Regions from separate parts of the Homo sapiens genome. Here region 2 is linked to region 1. The links are contacts of gene promoters, found by promoter capture Hi-C in human tissues and cell types (Jung and others, 2019). All regions are on one chromosome and are shown on one strand. The core of a region is centred on a gene start or on the middle of the fragment in contact, and the rest is flanking DNA. Distances in the headings are between cores, read along the strand shown. Region 1 holds the start of GPR45 (G protein-coupled receptor 45). Region 2 has its middle 41 kb from the start of GPR45.

Region 1 (4,826 bases), core at 278-2,777:
GATAAATGGCGCAGGCTGGATTTCCCCCAGCCCAGGCGATGTGACTTCAGACCTGAGCTACTGAACACACTCTTGCCACATCAGTGAGACAAAATTAAAATTATATTTATCTTTTTGAAAGTGAAAGCAAGTTTATCAAGAATGTAAGGAATAAAAGCTCATTTCATTTACTTTTTTTTTAAGAGACAGGGTCTCACTCTGTTACCCAGGCTGGAGTACAGTGACACCTTCTTAGCTCACGACAGCCTCGAACTTCTGTGCTTGAGCAATCCTCCTGCCTCGGCCTCCTGAGTAGCAGGGACTATAGATGGAAGCCTGGCTCATTTTTTTGTGTGTGTAGAGATGGGATCTCTCTATGTTGCCCAGGCAGGTCTTGAACTCCTGGCCTCAAGCAATCCTCCTGTCTCTGCCTCTCAAAGTGCTGGGATTATAGGCATGAGCCACTGCACCCAGCTAACATTGTATTTTAAAAGGCCTTACCTTTGGGGAAAGTTCCCTTCTCCCAGTCTGTGCTTCCAGAAGTAATAGTATAGCAGCCCCACAGTTATCCAAGATGTTACCATTAGGGAAAACTGGGTGAAGGACACACAGAATTTCACCATAGTATTTATTATTATAACTCCATGTGAATTTACACTTATCCATGTGAATTTACACTTATCAAATAAAGTTAAACAAACAGACTTACAATTTCTTTTAAAAAATTAAAACTTAAAAATGTATACTTAAAATTTGCTAAGAGGGCAGATCTTAGGTGAAGTATTCTTACCACCAAAACAAAATGATAATACTAGAAAAATGGCAGGAGAGAGCTTTGGCAGGGGGAGTGGGATATGTTTTTGGCCTTGGTGGTGATGGGTTTCTGGTATATTGAGATGTAAATTTGTACAGCTTTTGACATGTCAGTCATTCCTCGATGAAGTGGGGTTTTTTAAAGCTAAACAAATATTATAGCAGCAGCATCAACTATCACTTATTCATCTACTCAACAAGCATCCAAGTGTCCTCAACAAGGACACTTACTGCATGCCAGCCACTGTTGTCAGTACTGGGAGATAGCAGAGAATGAAACAAGCAAAACCTTTCTCTTGTGGAGCAGGATTCTAACGTTAGTTGGCTAGACCAAGGCTTCATTCCGACAGGTTGCTGAAAACTCAAGTTATTACATAAACACTAACTACAAAGTGTACTTCCTCAGTTTCCTCAGAAGATAGCTGATTAGGTTTTTCTGGGCTGCTTGACAAGACTCAGACAGTATTTGTGAATATCAAGCTTTGTCCCACGTGGTAAATAAACTTGTTTAGAAACACCTGTAAAGCTTAAACGCGTGCTTTCTTCAACGCGTTTGGAAACTCTAACCCCCTTCTCTTTTGTACTTTTGCTTGCTGTCCACTACAGAGGGTCCAAGCACGAAGCTGTGCACAGAGTCGCTCTCCACAGAGATGCTTAGGATGTGATCCATGAATCGCAAATCCCAGCTAGTGCTCACAAAGACGGACATTTCTCCCCAAGACCATTCCAGTGCCCCAGAGGTCCACAGACATCCAGGAAGATGCAGCCAGCAGACAAAGAATGGCAGCCACCCAAGTGCTGAGGGGAGCCCTCCCGGCCATTTCTGTCCCAGCTCCAAGGGTCTCTCCACGATGGCCTGCAACAGCACGTCCCTTGAGGCTTACACATACCTGCTGCTGAACACCAGCAACGCCTCAGACTCGGGGTCCACCCAGTTGCCCGCACCCCTCAGGATCTCCTTGGCCATAGTGATGCTGCTGATGACCGTGGTGGGGTTCCTGGGCAACACTGTGGTCTGCATCATCGTGTACCAGAGGCCGGCTATGCGCTCGGCCATCAACCTGCTGCTGGCCACCCTGGCCTTCTCCGACATCATGCTGTCCCTCTGCTGCATGCCCTTCACCGCCGTCACCCTCATCACCGTGCGCTGGCACTTTGGGGACCACTTCTGCCGCCTCTCAGCCACGCTCTACTGGTTTTTTGTCCTGGAGGGCGTGGCCATCCTGCTCATCATCAGCGTGGACCGCTTCCTCATCATCGTCCAGCGCCAGGACAAGCTGAACCCGCGCAGGGCCAAGGTGATCATCGCGGTCTCCTGGGTGCTGTCCTTCTGCATCGCGGGGCCCTCGCTCACGGGCTGGACGCTGGTGGAGGTGCCGGCGCGGGCCCCACAGTGCGTGCTGGGCTACACGGAGCTCCCCGCTGACCGCGCCTACGTGGTCACCTTGGTGGTGGCCGTGTTCTTCGCGCCCTTTGGCGTCATGCTGTGCGCCTACATGTGCATCCTCAACACGGTCCGCAAGAACGCCGTGCGCGTGCACAACCAGTCGGACAGCCTGGACCTGCGGCAGCTCACCAGGGCGGGCCTGCGGCGCCTGCAGCGGCAGCAACAGGTCAGCGTGGACTTGAGCTTCAAGACCAAGGCCTTCACCACCATCCTGATCCTCTTCGTGGGCTTCTCCCTCTGCTGGCTGCCCCACTCCGTCTACAGCCTCCTGTCTGTGTTTAGCCAGCGCTTTTACTGCGGTTCCTCCTTCTACGCCACCAGCACCTGCGTCCTGTGGCTCAGTTACCTCAAGTCCGTCTTCAACCCCATCGTCTACTGCTGGAGAATCAAAAAATTCCGCGAGGCCTGCATAGAGTTGCTGCCCCAGACCTTCCAAATCCTCCCCAAAGTGCCTGAGCGGATCCGAAGGAGAATCCAGCCAAGCACAGTCTACGTGTGCAATGAAAACCAGTCTGCGGTTTAGGGGGTCAGGGGGCCACAGAGAAGGGGCAGCTGAGCCCCAGTCCCAGGGTGGATCTGTCCTGCTCTGTTCCCTGGCATGTTGGTCATAGTCTGCACTTTGTGGTGGCAATTTAAGCACAAAGGTACTCATTTGTAATCAGATGAGCTGCAGCTCCCAAATTTCAAATTTTGGCACGATGAATTATTTTTGTTTCTCTTTGCAGAGAGCCAAATATGGGGCTGATGGGAACTGCAACGTCATTAAGTCAAAAATGGAGTGGGCTGGGGAGTGCAGAAGTTGGGCAGAAAGGGAGGAGGAGGGCAACAGGGAATGAAGCTGGTTGAGTGTGGGGCAGGAGGACTGGTCAGTCACAAGAGCTTCAACCTGCCCTGCGAGCCCTCTCTGCACCTGCTCAAGAGAAACCCTGAGAAACCCCAGTAGGTGTGAGCTCCTGGGTGTTCATTCATTTTGTTTGACACCAGGGTTCTTCAGCTATTGATGTTTGTGGTGTGTGGGGACTCACATGAGGTTCTTTATGTTGATCAGATGTGCATTTCTTCCCATGCCTAAGTATCTTTTCTAGAAAGAAACCAAAATCACACGGGGAAGCAGAGTGAGCCTCTGTGCTTTGAGCTCCCTGCAATGACGCATGGGAGGCCTCAGAGGCTTGAAGCCCAGAGAAGGTCCTGGGCAGCCCAGCTGAAGTGAGAAGCACATCCGGGAACTCCTGCATGTCCCCAGCGCCCCCCACCTGCTGGGCCCACCCCGTCCCTGCACCCTGAGGCCACTAGGCCTCCCTGTCTGCTGGAGAGCCCCTTGGCCCTTCCCTCTTTCCTCCACCCCTCTCCCTGCCTCCCTTCGTTTTCCTCCCATCCATATCCAGTGTGCTATAGCTCACCCGCTGAGCAAGCATCTGTAGTGACCTGCTTTCAGTGTCAGCAGTGAGCAGGCTGGGCTTAGTTTACACATTTCCTTTGGACACCCTGGAGCTCCAGAGCCCTTCAACCCACCAAATCCACTTCAGCACTGGACCCGCTGCAGGTGCCACACCAACGAGCCCAATTCTCGGGGTCCCCACTGGTCTCTGTGTTCCTCCTACCTCATTCAGATCCACTGCTGCCATCCTGTTTACCTACTGGGACCAGATCCCAGAAGTGAAGTTGCCCAAAGGGGGCTTCTCTGCTTGTGCTCTATTCGGCCACCACCAGGGGTCCCCACACTGGCATATGAGGGTCCTGAGTCCAGGGCATAGCACTGAGCCCACTGAGCTCTCTTTATTGTTCCAGATCTGAAGAGGGTGGGAAATTTAAGGAGAGATTTAGAAAATCTGATTCCAGGTCTGACTCTATCAGGAACTAGTCATTTGACCTTGATCGTTTCTCATTTCTGTGGGCCTCAGTTTCCCCATATGCCAAATGAGGAAGCAGATCTAGATGATTTCCAATGTCCCCTTTCATCTCTCAAACACTCTGATTCTGAAATGTGTGTTTTCTGTCTGTAGTCATCAGATCCCCTGCATTCATTTATTCATCCATGCAAAGAGCATGCATTAAGTGCCTACTAGGTGTAAGGCACTGTGCGGGAGATAGTGATGAATGAGGCATCATAGGCCATGCCCAAAAGCAGTTGTCTGATTTATCTCAGGATCATGGTAACTCAAATTCAGCCTAAGAGCACAGAAGCCCCATTTTTGCTTCACTTCCCGTTTCTTTCTAAACTGCATTAAGAGCCAGCTCCTCCTTCTCATACTTTCTTCCCGCAGTAGTGGTAACATGGGCAGAGAAGAAAGGGGGGTGAAAGGGAAAACATCATTTCTCTTAACCCTCCTCTTCAGCCCAGAGGAGGGTTAAGAAGATAACTGACACTTGTTCCCCCTCACCTCCCTCCCTGTTTATACCCAGATGGAGAGAGAGGGAGAAGATGAGCAATTGATGTGTGACCGACGGAGGTGGGTTCCATCAATTCTGTGTCCCCAGGTCCCCCAGCAAGGTGGGGATTTGCCTTCAGCTCCATGGAGCAGGGCTCTAGGGCCTCAGTAGTGCCCAACAGCACAGCCAAGTCACCAAGGGGACCAAGCCCATGGGC
Region 2 (4,795 bases), core at 1,007-3,506, 41 kb before region 1:
GGGGAAGCTCTCCAGGCACTGATCTGGGCAAACATTTCTTGAGCACTAGCCCACAAGCGGTACTCCACAGGCAACCAAATCAAAAATGAACAAATGGGATCACATCAATTTCAAAAGGTTTTCCACAGCAAAGAAACAATCAACGAAGTGAAGAGACAACTCACAGAATGGGAGAAAATATTTGCAAACTACCCATCTGACAAGAGATTCATAACCAGAATATGTAAGGAACTCAAACAGCACTATTAGAAAAAACTAATAATCCAATTTTAAAAAATGACAAAATATTTTAATAAACAATTCTCAAAAGAAGACATGCAAATGGCACACAGGTATACAAAAAGGTGCTCAACATCACTGATCATCAGAGAAATGCAAATCAAAATTACAATGAGATATCATTTCACCCCAGTTAAAATGGCTTTTATCCAAAAGACAAGCAATAACAAAGGCTGGCGAGGATGTGAAGAAAAGGGAACCCTCCTACGTTGTTCATGGGAATGTAAATTAGTACAACCACTATAGAGAACAGTTTCGAGGTTCCTCAAAAAACTAAAAATAGAGTTACCATACAATGCAGTGATCCCACTGCTGGATATATACCCAAAAGAAAGGAAATCAGTGTATCAAAGAGACATCCGCACTCTCATGTTTGTTGCAACACTGTTCACAATAGTCAAGATTTGGAAGCAACCTTAAGTGTCCATCAACAGATGAATGGATAAAGAAAATATGGTACATATACACAATGGAGTACTATTCAGCCATAAGAAAGAATGAGACTGAATCATTTGCAAAAGCATGGATGGAACTGAAGGTCATTATGTTAAGTGTAATAAGCCAGGCACAGAAAGACAAACATCACATGTGCTCACTTATCTGTGGGAGCTAAAAATCAAAGCAATTGAACTCATGGAGTTAGAGAGTAAGAATATGGTTATCAGAGGCTGGTAAGGGTAGTGGGGAGATAGGGATGGTTAATGGGTATAAAAAATATAAAAATGAAAAGAATGAATAAGCCCTAGTATTTGATAGCACAACAGGGTGACTGATATGGTTGGCTGTGTCCCCACCCACTCTCATCTTGAATTCCCACATGTTGTGGGAGAGTCCCAGTGGGAGGTAATTGAATCATGGGGGCAAGTCTTTCTCATGCTGTTCTCATGATGGTGAATAAGTCTCATGAGATCTGATGGTCTTAAAAAGGGGAGTTTCCCTGCACAAGCTCTCTTCTCCTGTCTGCCACCATGTGAGATGTGCCTTTCAACTTCCACCATGATTGTGAGACCTCCCCAGCCATGTGTAACTGTAAATCCAATAAACTTCTTTCTTATGTAAATTGCCCAGTCTCGGTATGTCTTTTCCAGCAACATGAACATGGACTAGTACAGTGACTATAGTCAATAATAATTTAATTGTACATTCTAAAATAAAAGAGTATAATTGGATTGTTCGTAACACTAACACAAAGGATAAATGCTTGAGGTGATGGATACCCCATTTTCAATGATGTTATTATTATGGGTTGCATGTCTGTATCAAAACATCTCATGCAACCCATAAATATATATGCCTACTATGTACCCACAAAAATAAAAAATGTTAAAAAAGATGGACCTTTCTGATCACATGATTGTTAAGTAAAAAAATGATGGAGTGAACTTTGTAGGTATCAGGGGAAACAGTGTTCCAGGAAAGAGGGAAAGCTGGTGTAAAGGCCCTGAGACAATAATGTAACTGAGAGTTTTGAGAAGCATTAAGGAAGCAGTGTTGCTGCAGAGAGTGAGCAGGCTAGAGAATGATAGTGGGTAAAAGTACATAGTGGCTGGAGATTTGGATAGTGCTGGATTATTATTAATGGACCTTAAAAGCTTTGGTGAAGGTATTGGAATTTGTTCTGAGTGAGACGGAAAGAGGGTTTTGAGCAAAGGAATAAGTGATCTCCCTTACATTTTGAAATGGCCACCCTTGCTCTCATGTAGAGGAGCAGGAATAGAGATAGGAGGCTACTGCAATAGTCCAAGCAGGTATGATGGTGGCTTGAACAAGAGTGCAGGGGTAAGAGTCAGGTGGTTCTGGATATATTTTGAAGGTGAAGTGAACAGGATTTGCTAATGGGTTAGATGTGGGGTATAAAAGAAAGAGGAGCAAAGGACTAATTCTAAGATTTGATTTAAGCCACAAGAAAACTAAAGTTGCCATCTGCCCAGAGAAAGGACTGGATGCAGAGCTGGATTTGGATGGGGCAAGGAGTGAATTTGAGGCACCAGCAAGACATCCTGGTGGAGGTGTTGAGAACATATTTGTTAAATATAAGTATCCGCAGCCACCACAATGGCTCGCACCTGTAATCCCAGTGCTTTGGGAGGCCAAGGTGGGAGGATCACTTGGGGCCAGTAATTTGAGACTAGTTTGGGCAGCAAAGTGAGACTCCATCTCTACAAATAAAAAATTTTAAAAATTAGCCAGGCTTGGTGGCACACGCCTGTAGTCGCAGCTACTCAGGAGGCATAGGTGGGAGGACTGCTTGAGCTCAGGAGTTAGAGGCTGCATTGAGCTGTGATCACACCACTGCACTCTAGTCTTGGTGACAGAGTGAGATTCCCATCTCTTAAAAATAAAAATATTTGAGTTCAGAGAGGAAGTCTCAACTGGGAGATACAAATTTTCAAGTGTTCAGCACACAGATGCCCTTAAGTGTCTGGAGATTATCGTCTCCAGAGAATTACCAGTTAGTAAGCCTTGGGACTTTAGGAGATCACCTGCAGAGTGAGACATCTGAGGACTGAGCCTTGTGATTTCAGTATTTAGAGGCTGTGAAAATGAGGAGGATCCAATACAGAGACTGAGAAGGAGCAGCTCGAGAAACGGAAGGAAAATCCAGAGGCACTGGGGGACCAGAGGCCGCGTGAAGAAAATGTTTTAAGAAGAAGGAATTGTGTTCAATGCTGTGGCCAGGTCAGCTAGGATGAGGGCTGAGAAGTGACCACTGGGTTTGGCAATGTCGAAGGTGGGCCAGGAGGGGGTCTTTCCCAGGAGTAGGCAATAAGGGGGTATGTTGTCTGGACAGAATTTAAAAATAACAATTAACTGACTAAAAATGAGCCTTCTTATTATCCTCACCATGCAGTGGCAATTCTGAACAATGTAAGTAAAAAAAAATCCTTAATTGGTCTAGTTCTAAACATTGTTGCAGTTGTTATTGGGTTTAAATAACACATGTGAAAGCTTCAAATTAGCACATTTGTGTTACTTTCTCTTAATAAAATGGTACCTCGAGAGAATGACCAGCATATAGTCAGCCCTCCAGATGCATACTCAACTAAATTTTTTGCTTCTAGAGTCATTTGCAACAGTCTAAAATGGTTTGAGCCCAGTTCACCATCTCCAGCCCCCTTGAGACCATATTCCTACATTTAAACAGATTTGCCATGGACAATGACAGCAGAGAGATGGTCCAAACAAACACAGGCCAGCCTGCACAACATAGTAAGACTCCATCTCTACAAAAAAAAAATTAAAAATTAGCCAGACATGGTGATGTCTGCCTGTATTCCTGGCTACTAGGGAGGCCGAGGTGGGAGGATTGCTTGAGCACAGGAGTTCAAGCCTGCACTAAGCCATAATGACACCACTGCGTTCCAGCCTGGGTGAGTTAATCCATTTTTACACTGCTATAAAGAACTGCCTGAGACTGGTTATTTATGAAGAAAAGAGGTTTAATTGACTCACAGTTCTGCAGGCTGTACAGAAGCATGGCTGGGAGGCCTCAGGAAACTTACAATCATGGAGGAAGGCAAAGGGGAAGCCCACACATCTTACCATGGTGAAGCAGGAGAGAGAGGGAGAGAGAGAGAGAGAGAGAGAGAGAGAGCATGAGTGAAGGGGGAAGTGCCCACACTATTAAACCATCAGATCTTATGAGACTCACTCACTATCAGGAGAACAGCAAAGAGGAAATCCACCCCCGTGATCCAATCACCCCCGGCCAGGCCCCTCTCCTGACATGTGGGGATTACAATTCAGCATGAGATTTGAGTAGGGACACAGAGTCAAACCATATCAGTGACAGAGTGAAATCCTGTCTCTAAACAAACAAACAAACATAACTTGAGTTACTTCAATTCTGTCATTTTGTGTAACCAACTGACATTTTTATTTGTGTTTCAAATTTAGGAGAGTAAAATAGAGTGCAAACTGCAAGGTGCAATGTTTTGGTTGCATAAGAGCAAATTTTCATTGTGAAATATACTGAATTTGAATAGCTTTGAAATGGAAATTTACTCTTCTCTAGTTGTGCTTAAACTAGAGAATGAATCAAGAAAACAAAGTTTATTGCTGACTATAATCGTGCTGTGTAGAGGAGAGGCTGTTGAAAATGACCTGGATGGGTGTGAAATATGCTAGGGATGTCTTCTTTGGAGGTCATGGGGTAACGTCAAACAGAGCAGTTTTGTGGAAGTGATGGGAAGAGAACACGATAGGGGTTGAGAGAGAATGGAAAAAGACAAAGAGGAAACAAAGAGCAGAGACAACTCTTTCAAGAAGCTTTGCTGTACAGTGGGTAGCGGGTACTGTGAAATCCAGGGAGGGCTTTCAAAAATGTGAGATGCTATTCTGAGGAACACAGCAAGACCTTGTCTCTACAAAAAAATAGCCAGCCATGATGGTATTCACCTTTAGTCCCAGCTACTTGAAAGGCTGAGGTGGGAGAATTGCTTGAGCCTAGCAGTTCAAGGCCAGCCTGGGCAACATAGCAAAACACTGTCTCTACAAAAATGAAAAATAATAGCCA

What was found. Contacts are between HindIII fragments. The study calls those that stand out against the background at their distance.
Region 2: a fragment that was not itself captured here is called in contact with the fragment with the promoter of GPR45 in region 1 in 1 of the 25 tissues and cell types used here (mesendoderm cells).

What each region holds. Positions count from the first base shown.
Region 1 is chr2:105,240,216-105,245,041 of GRCh38, forward strand. GPR45 (G protein-coupled receptor 45) reads left to right here and starts at 1,528. Exons shown (of 1, transcript NM_007227.3): 1 at 1,528-3,252. The coding sequence starts at 1,644. The coding sequence ends at 2,762. The HindIII fragment of the contact is 15,889 bases long and covers 1-4,826 here.
Region 2 is chr2:105,198,555-105,203,349 of GRCh38, forward strand. No RefSeq gene overlaps it. Among named protein-coding and RNA genes, the nearest start is that of GPR45, 41 kb to the right of the region's middle. The HindIII fragment of the contact is 3,263 bases long and covers 626-3,888 here.